3 separate regions of the Homo sapiens genome follow, and regions 2 and 3 are each linked to region 1. Evidence: promoter capture Hi-C in 16 types of primary human blood cells and fetal thymus (Javierre and others, 2016). All regions are on one chromosome and are shown on one strand. Each heading gives the region's core, a stretch centred on a gene start or on the middle of the fragment in contact. The rest is flanking DNA. Distances are from core to core; before and after follow the strand shown. Region 1 overlaps ANXA6 (annexin A6). Region 2 holds the start of SMIM3 (small integral membrane protein 3). Region 3 holds the start of RBM22 (RNA binding motif protein 22).

The links. The method cuts DNA at HindIII sites, captures the fragments that hold promoters and counts their contacts. A CHiCAGO score of 5 or more calls a contact.
Region 2: the fragment with the promoter of SMIM3 here is called in contact with a fragment that was not itself captured in region 1 in 1 of 17 cell types (neutrophils); the score reaches 6.4 in neutrophils.
Region 3: the fragment with the promoter of RBM22 here is called in contact with a fragment that was not itself captured in region 1 in 1 of 17 cell types (fetal thymus); the score reaches 5.2 in fetal thymus.

Annotation. Positions count from the first base shown.
Region 1 is chr5:151,116,414-151,119,952 of GRCh38, forward strand. It overlaps ANXA6 (annexin A6), which reads right to left. Exons shown (of 26, transcript NM_001155.5): 18 at 2,887-2,977; 19 at 1,345-1,424; 20 at 714-767. Among named protein-coding and RNA genes, the nearest start is that of TNIP1, 37 kb to the left of the region's middle. The HindIII fragment of the contact is 8,685 bases long and covers 1-3,539 here.
Region 2 is chr5:150,777,355-150,780,734 of GRCh38, forward strand. It overlaps SMIM3 (small integral membrane protein 3), which reads left to right and starts at 1,403. Exons shown (of 2, transcript NM_032947.5): 1 at 1,403-1,618. LOC124901110 reads right to left here and starts at 3,047. Exons shown (of 2, transcript XM_047417995.1): 1 at 2,553-3,047; 2 at 1-2,197. The coding sequence starts at 1,767. The coding sequence ends at 1,126. RefSeq lists a silencer at 1,298-1,487 and an enhancer at 1,925-2,786. The HindIII fragment of the contact is 6,508 bases long and covers 1-3,380 here.
Region 3 is chr5:150,699,181-150,702,846 of GRCh38, forward strand. It overlaps RBM22 (RNA binding motif protein 22), which reads right to left and starts at 1,882. Exons shown (of 11, transcript NM_018047.3): 1 at 1,752-1,882; 2 at 1,264-1,317; 3 at 62-91. The coding sequence starts at 1,805. RefSeq lists enhancers at 1,124-1,900, 1,901-2,677. The HindIII fragment of the contact is 2,219 bases long and covers 1-1,976 here.

The DNA of each region.
Region 1 (3,539 bases), core at 364-2,863:
GGCCTCAGTAGGGACTGCCCAGCCATAGAACCCTCAGGGAAAATGAATTTGGGGTTGTCCAACCTCCAGAAGAAGCCATTTCCAGACCTCAAGCTCACTAGGCTAAGGAGCAGGGCTGAGGCAGAGCAGCCAAGAGACTCCTAGAGAACCCTTTTCCCTGCTATTCATTCAACAAATATTTATTGAGCACTGATCATGTGTTACTTTGGATATATCAGTGAACAAAATGAAGATTCCAGCCCTTGAGGAACTTACTTTCTAGGCTCGTCCCAGGACACTCCCTCCAATCTCGGTCCCATTTTACAGATAATAAACCGAGGCCTTTAGCACTCAGGCCCTCTTCTCAGCAAGTTCCCAGACCAGCTCTCTAGGGGTCAATTCTACTGGGGCCACTGATTTGCTGTGTGACTTTCAGAAGTCATTTGCCCTTTCTGGACCTCCATTTTCCCACTGTAACATGAGGGCTTTGACCTGGGTGATCTGCAGGTCCCTGCCAGCTCTGAGGGTCCTGCTATTCACCTAGGAAATGCCAGTAATACCAGCACCACACTTCTAAACCTCATTTCTACAGTCTAAGTATCAACCAATCAAACCAACCACGCCCCTGCCAGGAGCCTTCACTCACAGACAGGGCCCGGCGTAGACACGCATAAGCTGGACCTACATCTCAGGGACACCCGGCAGAGGTGACTGGGGTGGGCTGGGGGTCTTACCTGGGCATCTTCCCGTGCCTGGTCCAGGTTTTCTCCTCCCTCCTCACGATGCCCCTGCAGCAGGAGCAGCAAGAAAGTTCAGTCCCCAAACATCGACCCATCTCCATCTCTGTACCACCACACACCCTGCTCATTTTCACCTCTCTGAATGCTCTTCCTCATCAGCTACACAGGGACGAAAATCCTGCCTCTATAAGGTAGGCTGTTGTGGTCATTAACTGAGAATGTGTGCAAGACACTTAGCACCAATGCCTGACACACAGCAAGCTCTCGGTAACTGTCAATGAGGGTCTGCCATTTTGGTTATGGGAATTCAAGAGATGGTGACAGAAGCTCCCAGGTAACAACACAGGAGAGGGTCACCCATATGGCTTTGTCCTGTGAGCTGGGGGCCCAACAAGCCAGGACAAGGGCCACCAGGGAGGACTGTCTGGAGAAGGTGGTACCACGCCAACTTTGACAAGGGAACAACAGGGGTAGGCGGTGGAACTCTAAGGAGGCAAGTGGGGAGACACCCCCTCTCCATCAGGAGTGCACTTCTAACTCCCCTGTGCCCTCCACTCAGTAAACCTTCCCTTCCTCCCAGGCCTCCCGATGGGCAAGCCGACCTGGGGCCCATGAATTCACTCACCGTGGCCAGAGAAATGAGGATCCTCCTGAAGTGGCCAGATGTGTCTGAGCTCAGAGCATCCTCCAGGGACTTGTGATAGTCTGAGGCAGAGAAAGGGGGTGTGGGTAGCTGCTGGCCAAGAAGGATTTGGTTGCGGGGAGGGAGGTCCAGGAAACTCAGGCTTGAGCCAGGGCAGTATTGGCAGGGGGAGGTGGGGATGAAAGGGTTTGTAACTGGCTCATGGGGGCATCCAGCCATCCTCCTGCTGATTTTGTAAGACAATGGGCATTCCCATCAACCCATCATCTCCCCTCCATCCCCTCAGCTCTGTCCCAGTTGAGGTCCCATTGCATCTCGCCTTTAATATTTAACAGCCTCTTAAGTCACCTCCCTGTTGTCATTCTCTCTTCTACCTTCCCTCCTGCATGGCAGTTGCTAAACCCAAAAGCAGAGCTCTGACTATGTCACTCCTGTACTCAAAAATTCTGCCATTTTAAAGCTGCTTATAAGATAAAAAATGTAAACTTTTTTTTTTTTTTTCAAGACAGGGTCTCACTCTGTCACCCAGGCTGGAGTGCAGTTGGCATGATCAAGGCTCACTACAGCCTCGACCTCCCTGGGCTCAGGTGATCCTCCCACCTCAGTCTCCTGAGTAGCTGGGACTATAGGCACATGCCACCACACTTAGCTAATTTTTTTGTTTTTTGTTTTTTTTGAGATGGAGTCTCATTCTGTCTCCCAGGTTGGAGTGCAGTGGCGTGATATCGGCTCACTGCAACCTCTGCTTCCCAGGTTCAAGTGATCCTCCTGCCTCAGCCTCCTAAGTAGCTGGGGCTACAGGCGCATGCCACCACGCCTGGCTAATTTTTGCATTTTTAGTAGAGACGGGGTCTCACCATGTTAGCCAAGTTGGTCTTGAACTTCTGACCTCAAGGGATCCACCATCTCGGCCTCCCAAAGTGCTGGGATTACAGGGGTGAACCACCGCACCCAGCCAATTTTTATATTTTTTGTAGAGACGGGGTTTTGCCATGTCGCCCAGGCTGGTCTCGAAGTCCTGGGCTCAAGCAATCCGCCTGCCTGAGACTCCCAAAGTGCTGGGATTACAGGTGTGAGCCACTGCACCTAGCCGATTTAAACATTTTTGACTGGTACTCAAGATTCTTCAGAATGAAAATATGGGGCCACTCGCTTAAAAATGAAGAATTTCTGGACAGTGACAGCATAGCTTGCAACCAAGTGTGGGGCCCTTCTGGCTGTGGGGCCCTGTAGAACTGCATGGACTACACACCCCTAGAGTCGCCCTCCCTCTCTCCAGCAGGCCAGAATGTTCTCTGTTCCCACTTCCAGCCAAGCCCTTTTCTACCTCCAGGCCTTTGTCCTACCAGGACACCTGTCTTTTCCCCAGACACAGGGATGGGCACACCCAAGAGGCTTATCAAATCCTCAAGGACTGAGGGAAAGGAGACAGGCCAGAGTCCTGGGCAGAGCTGTGGGCTGGGGTTGGAAGTTGGGGGGCCTGGCTGTTCTCCCAGCATCTGGGCCCAGGCCTCCCAAACTCACCCTCCTTATAGGCCTCATTGATGGCCCGGATTTCAGCATTGGTCCGAGTGGCCAGGATTTCAATAAGAGCCTTTTCATCTGTGCCGGCTCCCTGGAATGTCAAGGCAAAGATGATCTCAGCCATAGTTCTGACCTCCTGTGCAGAGGTCCATGGGGCCCGGACGGCTAAAGCTCAGGCCAAGCATTCCTGGATTTTCTCCTCACCTCCAGACATGGCCCTCAGGCCCAAGACCTTGGCACAACCAAGGCTGACTATGCCAGCCTCTCAAGATCCCCAGAACCTCCCATGTGAACTGCTTTGCCTTCCAGCCCCCCAAACAGAAAAGGTATATAGGCGTGTGTGTATAACACCACATATACACATGAACATCTGAATAGAAATTTCTACTTGTAAGTATTGGAAGAGAACAGAAGGACACGCACATGCCTCACAGTGTTAACTAGCAGTTTGGTCTCTGTGTGAGTGAAGGATCACAGATGATTGCTATTTTCTTCTTTTTTACTCTATTTCTTCAAGTCTCCACAGTGAACATGTATTATTTTGTTAGAAGAAAAAAAGTTTTGTGCTTAAGATAAAATGCTAAATTTTTTTTCTTTTGAGACAGAGTCTTGCTCTGTCGCCCAGGCTGGAGTGCAGTGGCATGATTACGGCT
Region 2 (3,380 bases), core at 153-2,652, 340 kb before region 1:
GACTCAGCTGGCTCCAGGCCTGAGCTTCTGCCTTGTCCCAGAGGGAAGCCAATGTTCACAGCAGGGCACATGGAGTTACCAGTTGTCCACCCAAAGGAACTCTCATCCCCTTCACTAACCAGGGAAAATGTCATATTAAGATTGTCCTCCTGTTGCAGTGAGCCGAGATCATGCCACTGCACTCCAGCCTGGGCGACAGAGCGAGACTCCGTCTCAAAAAAAAAAAAAAAAAAAAAAAAGATTGTCCTCCTTCAATCTTTTTTTACTATTAAATGAGAGCTTTGTATTAAACTATTCAGAATTGGGTTGTCCTTGTTTTTAGGTTCCCACACTATCTCTTTTGAATAAAACATGTTGTTGGGTGACAGCCCTTAGGGTTTTTCTCAAATCATTTCTCATGTGAATCCCCTTCATCCTCACTGTCCTTCCCTTAAGAAACTGGCGTGTGATAATGATGATTTAGAGGTCATTTCTGCTGACCTCATCCCTGAATCAGAGGAAACAGCATGGAGTAAGTTCTAAGTTCGGGGCCCACACCATATCAAATTTAGGCCTGGGGAAGGCAGTATGGCTCTTTCCAAACCCTCCAAAACACTACTGGGCTCCAAGACTGCTCAAGGTCTCACTGATAGTCAAGGCTTGTGCTCCTTTTTTTCAGAAGAGTAAGATTAAAGAAAACCACTGTGAATTAAAAAGTGTGGGTGCCAACATGGGACGGGAGTCCCCCCTCACTCCATGGATGACATAGAGGGGGCAGAAGATTACAGAATTGGCATTGTCCTGCGTGGAAGCTGGGCCACCCACAGTGGCGTGGGAAGCCTCTCAGATGCTGGATTCTAATGGGCTCTTGATCACCTTGGATTGGGCTATTTCATTGTTATCACAAAATAAACAGGATGCTCCAAGTCATGTTATGGCAGAGAACCAACCAGCTTCACACTGGTCCTCTAAACCAATCCTCACAACAGGACTGGGAGACAGGTGTTACCTTTCCCACTTTACAGAGAATGAAACAGAGTGGCAAAGCCTCCGAAGGACCCTACACTTCGGACATCGCAAAGCAGGATCTGAGTCCCGGCTCCTCTGTCCAAACCTACTTGCTAGGCTTTCTTTCCCATGTCTACTCTATAGCTGGAAAGGTCGTGGAGGACACATTTTAGGCCAACCCTCTCGGTTTACAATCCAGAGAGGGGAGACCCTCAGAAGCCAAGCGACATGTCCACGGCTACGCGGCGAGTGTGTGGCAACGTGGAAGGGGAGCCCGAGACGCCCTGGTCTCTCCCTTCTCTCGCAGGTTCCTTTCTCCCCGAACGCAGCCCGCAGGGGACGCTGGAGGAGGAGCTGAGCTGGAGTTGCCGGGGCCCCGGGACCGGGCGTTCCGGGGGCGGTCCCCAGCAGCCGCGCATTCCAGAGCCAGCAGCGCGTCCTGGCCGCTCCTGCGCTCTCCCGCCTCCCGGGGCTCGGAGGAGCCGGGGCACGTTCCAGGAGCTGCCTAGGGCTGAGGTTCCAGGCCTGGGGGTCGCTTCCAGCTGCCAGATCCCGTGCAGTCCTGGGGACCCTGAGAAGCACCGAGCCATCCCTGACCCAGGAACTTTCCGCAGACTCGCCGCCATCTGGGGTGAGTGGGGCCACCGGGGGATTGTTTGTGGGGCTCTGGCAGAGCGGAGCTCTTCGGATTCGCGACCTACCTCTAGTGCGGCCCCTTTCCCCGGGCTCCCAACGTTCTTCTTTATGTCCGGTCTCTCCTCCCCATTTCTCCCTTTTCATCACTTTTGTATTTCTTGCCCTCACCCCCTCCTTTTTCTCCTGCTGTCAGCTCTTAAGTTCGAGCCTCCTAGTGCACAGAATTTTGGGCCTGGGGGAGGCGGAGCTTGGGTGGGCGAACCCCAGCCCCACTCGGAGACTGGCTTCTCTCCGGGTCCGCTGCCCTTGCCTTCTCGGGAAGCCTCCTCCTCGGGCAGACTGCCACCTCCTGGCTCTCCAGGCCCAGCGTCAGGGTTCAGCGCCCGGGCCTGAGCACCTGCTTGGGCGCTGCGCTGGGTTTGGGTCTTTGCACTTACCTGTCCCGCTTTTCTCGAGGCCCCGTGTAGAAGGCGCCAGGAGTTTGGAGTCAGGAGTGGCGGGTTCCAGCCCTGGTTCTGTCACTAACTGCTTCACCATCCTTGTTTTTCCATCAGTGAAATTGGGAAAACATTTTCTGCGTGCAGAAAGCAAAGGAGAAAGGACATGAGCAAAGTATCTTGGAGAGAAGGCTTCCTTCAAGCTCCCTCCTGCTGGTTAGCTGTCCCTTTCCTGAGGACGTAGTTGTTCCAGTTGCTGGTTGTTTTGCTCCCTAGTCTCCCCCATGCCAGTTTCTTGAGGGTAGGGACTGCCTGTCTATCGTCATCTCTGAGGCATTCTCAGCTCTTGGAGCAGGGCCTGGCTAACAGTAGGTGCTCCATACATATGTACTGAGTGAAAGGATGAAAGGTGTAACCCCCCCCGCCCCCCCCACAAATTGAAACAAACCTCAGGGGCTGTTATTCTGATTGAGGGCCAGGCTGGGCTCTTACTTATGCAGCTGCACTTGTTTCTTCTGGACCAGCTGGAATCCTGCTGCACCTGGGGGCTGAGGAGTCTCCGGTTCATCTGTGGTGAATACTAAGGTCCTCAAAGCTCCAGGGTGTGGTGGTGAAGGCTGCGCAATCACACAAGTATCAGAGATTCCTTGAACATCTGCTATGATGCGTGCTGCTACTGCAGTGGCCACATAGTTTGGAAGGATTGGGGATGCCTGAATTAGGTGGAGGTGGGAGCGGGAAGAACAGGTACTCTGGGGGTTAGGAGACCCTCTGAATTACCCTAATGGAGGCATTTCCCCTCTCTGGCCCTTGTCTTCCCTATCTGTAAAATGAAGACATGGGAGTGGAACAGATGTTTGTCTGTGGTTGAGCATGACATGCTCTTTGGTTTATGCAGGCCGCACAGCAGCCATCTAGACACACGCAAAGCAGCACAGCTGAGCTTTAGGACATCATGTGCTTCTGCAGTGACAACTGAAAAAAACTAAAAAGTGTTTTCCTGCTCCAGCCGGGACCTCCTGTTCCCAGCTGTCCTGGGACTGTGAATCATGCTGTGGGGGTTACAAGTCATGCTTCATGAACTCTCCCACAAGTGACCTCTCCGAACCTCAGAACTGTGGCTCCATGACACTAAAGATCTGGGGAGTCCCAGAGAACAGCCAGAGAACCACTGAGTCGCGGTGAGGTGTTAGAGATGCAAAACAAATGAGAGACTCTGGGGGCCTGTGGTCAGGTCAGATCCTGGGCCCTTGGGGGTGACAGACCAAGGGGATAAGGGCCAGTCACAGCCTCAGATGCTTTCTCAGCCATACGCCAATC
Region 3 (3,666 bases), core at 632-3,131, 420 kb before region 1:
TAATTTGGTAGAGAAAAGAAAAATGAAACAGAAATCATTACTCTTTAACAGACATACTTACTTTGCATTCCTTCCCATACTTTTCTTTGGTCTATAATAGAAAAAAAATAGAAAAGAACTGGAGTTACAGAAAGAAAAAAGCCAGATGTCTACTCTTTCCTTAAACATAACCCAAGAAATGTGTCTGGAAATCCCTGGCATCCTAGAGAGAGAAAAACAGCAACAACAAAACCCAAAACCCAACCTTTTTTGGGAAGAGGGTAGGGAACATACTATAACAACATATTATAAGTGATAACATCTCAAGAGTATATGGATCTGGGCTGGGTGGCAGTGGCTCACGCCTGTAATCCCAACACTTTGAGAGGCCAAGGTGGAAGGATTGCTTGAGCCCAGGAGTTCCAGACTAGCCTGGGCAACATAGCGAGATGCTGTCTCTACAGAAAAAAGAAATAGAGTATATGCATCTAATGCTAGGTAAGTGAGTGTCTTTCCACAGCCACAACTCTTAGGTTCATTTTTGGCTCCCAAGTTCACTCCCAAGAACTAACATTCCTAATGCTTTCCACAATCCCTAAATCAGAGAGGATACAGCTGTGGCCCGCCCACTTTACAAAGTTTAGTCAAAAGGTAGCTACTGTAGACTTGTCCTGTGCCAATGCCCGGAATATAGTAAATGTTCTGTTTAAACAGAACTATTCAAACATCTTGAACCATTCAAACATCGTGAACATACTAACATATCAACACCTCTACGACTACACAATAATACAGCCCTAACCTTATTATTGTTAACTGGTTCTAATTTTACCCTAGTTTGTAACAAAGGGGGAATGCTTACTTTAAAGAGATAAAGTACACTGGCCAAAAGGCATTTGACCAGGATTCAGGAAACCTAGTTTCTAGTTCTGGTTCTCCTCCTATCATGCTGACATTCCTAGAGCCAGAATATGTGAACTTAAATCCCAGCTCCATTCCTTACTATTGTATGAAAAGACACAAACGCTCTCACCTTCTGGTCAACAGACCTATTTCCTAGGTAAATGCTCAACAAATACTAGCTATCGTTATTACCCCTACATTACAGGAGTGTTACCGGATTCGTAAGAGAATACACATGACAGTTCTTTGCAAGTCGTCCAGCACTTCGCGTTAGTAAAAGAGCATCATTTTTTCTGCTTGTCTAAGAGAAACACTTCACAGTGTGCAAGTACCACAACATCGACAGGACATGAATAACTCGTTTCACACGCGATCACTCACCATTCGGATATATGGGTTTTCTCCAAGACATGTCTGGCACAGAATGGGGAAGTCCTGGTGAAAATGGGAAATCTGGTTGAGGACCACCCTCCGAAGACCCTGACACCTCAGTGACACTTGGGGTGGCGAGGGGGCGGGAAGCGAGGGTGGGGAACTAGGCACGGCAGGAACCCGAAGTCCATCACGACCCGATCGCGGGAGGGGGCGCTGTCTGCACTTCCGGCAGGCGGCGGGAGAAAAGAAAACCAGCTCTAATAGGCTGGAGGGGGCAGGGATGGAAAGGGTGCTGGTCCCGGGACCCTGGCTAAGCCCCCTCCCTTCAAGCCCGCAGGAGGATCGCCCTCCGCCCTCCTGCTCCGGCCAAGCTAGGCCGCCGCGCTGGCTCCTCCCCGGTATTCCTTCGGCCGCGCCGCAGGCCCTGTCCTGCCAGCTTGCAAGGTGCGCGGCTTCGCCTCCTCCTTCCATCCTCCTCCGGCAGGCACACTCACCGCATCCTCCCAGTTCTGCCTGTTGTAGGTGTTGGAACCCAGAGAGGTCGCCATCTTGAGAGCGTCCGGAGGTAGCTGTAGCTTCCGAATTGGGAGAGAGGACCGCCACAATCCCGTCAAGCCCCGAGGCTAGCGCCGCGCCGGTCGGCGTCTTATTTACGCGTCTAGGGCTTCTTCCGGGGCGGGGCCTTTGCGTCATGACGTCGCCCGCTCTTGGAATTTCTAAGCTTAACAATTGGGGTCCTGGTATAATGCACCTGGATGCTTCCTTCGAGTTTTTGCCTGCTTGGAATGAAGGGCCACACGTACAGTTGATTCATTTAACAATTGGGCGAAAGAATAAAGGAAGACGTAATGCATCAGAGGCTGGGGTTAAAATAGCGTTCGCTACCACTGAGGCGCTTATTATGCCAAACTCTGGGCGAACGTCTTGCGGTTCCAGTGTCTTATTTATTCGCATAACCTCTCTGTAGGGCTCTCTGTAGGGCTGCCAGATTCTGATTCTGTCTCTCTCTCTCTCTCTCTCTCTCTCTCTCTCTCTCTGTCACTCACACACACACATGCACACACACACACGCACGAATTACAGAACGTCTAAAGTTGAATTTCAGATTAACGGCGAATCGCTTTTTAATTATAAATATATATGGTACCTACTCGTCCTAAAGTAGGATTCGTGGTTGACCTGAAATTCACATCACTTAACCAATCGTCCTGTATTTTATCTGGTAACTCTACCCTGTAGGCAAGTATGATGATCCCTCTTTTATAGAAAAGAAAACAGGTTTAGAGAGATTAACCTAATCTCTCCTGATATAGCTCCTGGTTGTGGAGCTAAAAAGTGGTGAAGCCACAAATTCATTAGTACTGTTTCATTTCCAGCTTCTGAAATGACAAGGGTCTTACGAATCAACATATGCATTATTTGATTTTTGGAATAACTCATAACCACTCTGCCAATATTTTATGAGTTTCAAGCCATTCTGGTACCACTTTCATACTTACCGTGTCATCAAGCTACCTAACACATTTATTTAAATCACCTCATTAAAAAAAAAAGTTGATTTAAAGTATAATTTACATAAAGTTTTATCCTTTTTAGTTTTGAATTTTGTACATACATTCACTTACAGTCAAATATGGAATTGTCTGTCATCCCCAAAGTTCCCTTGTTTCTGTAGTTAGTCCACTTATCCCATACTCAAACCATGGCAATCACTAATTTGTGTTCTGTCCCTAGTTTTGCCTTTTCCAGAATGTCACATAAGTGGAATCCTATATATCCTTTTGGATCTGATATTTTTTCACTTAGTATTTTGTAGTTGAGATTCATCCATATTATTACATGTATCAATAATTTCTTCCTTTGTATTACTGAGTAGAATTCCATTGTATGGATATATCATACAATTCACTTGCCAGTTGCTGGATATTTGGGTTGTTCCCAGATTTTAGTGAATATAAATAAAACCATTATAAACATTCACATACAGATCGTTGTATGGACATTGGTTTTCATTTTGCTTGTGTAAATGCCTTAGAGTGAGATTATTTGATCATATGGTAAGTATATCTTTTCCTTTATAAGAAAGTCCTTGGGTTTATCTGAGCTTCTTGGATCTGTGATTTGTTGTCTTTTATTATATTTGGAAAATTCTCAAGTATCATCTCTTCAGACTGTCTTCTGCCTGGTTTCTACATCTGTGACTCCAATTTCACATGCCTTGTGAGGAGTGCAAGGTCAGAAATAACAGAGTCCACGTACATTTGTGTTTTTCCACAATGCCAGACTTTTACTGATGCTATTTCAATCACAAAAGCCACGAACTACATGGAGTTTCCAAGAAAGCAATTCTCCTTAGTACTTCCCACTCACTCAGCACTCAGAGTCTTGGACACACAGGCTCAAGGCACT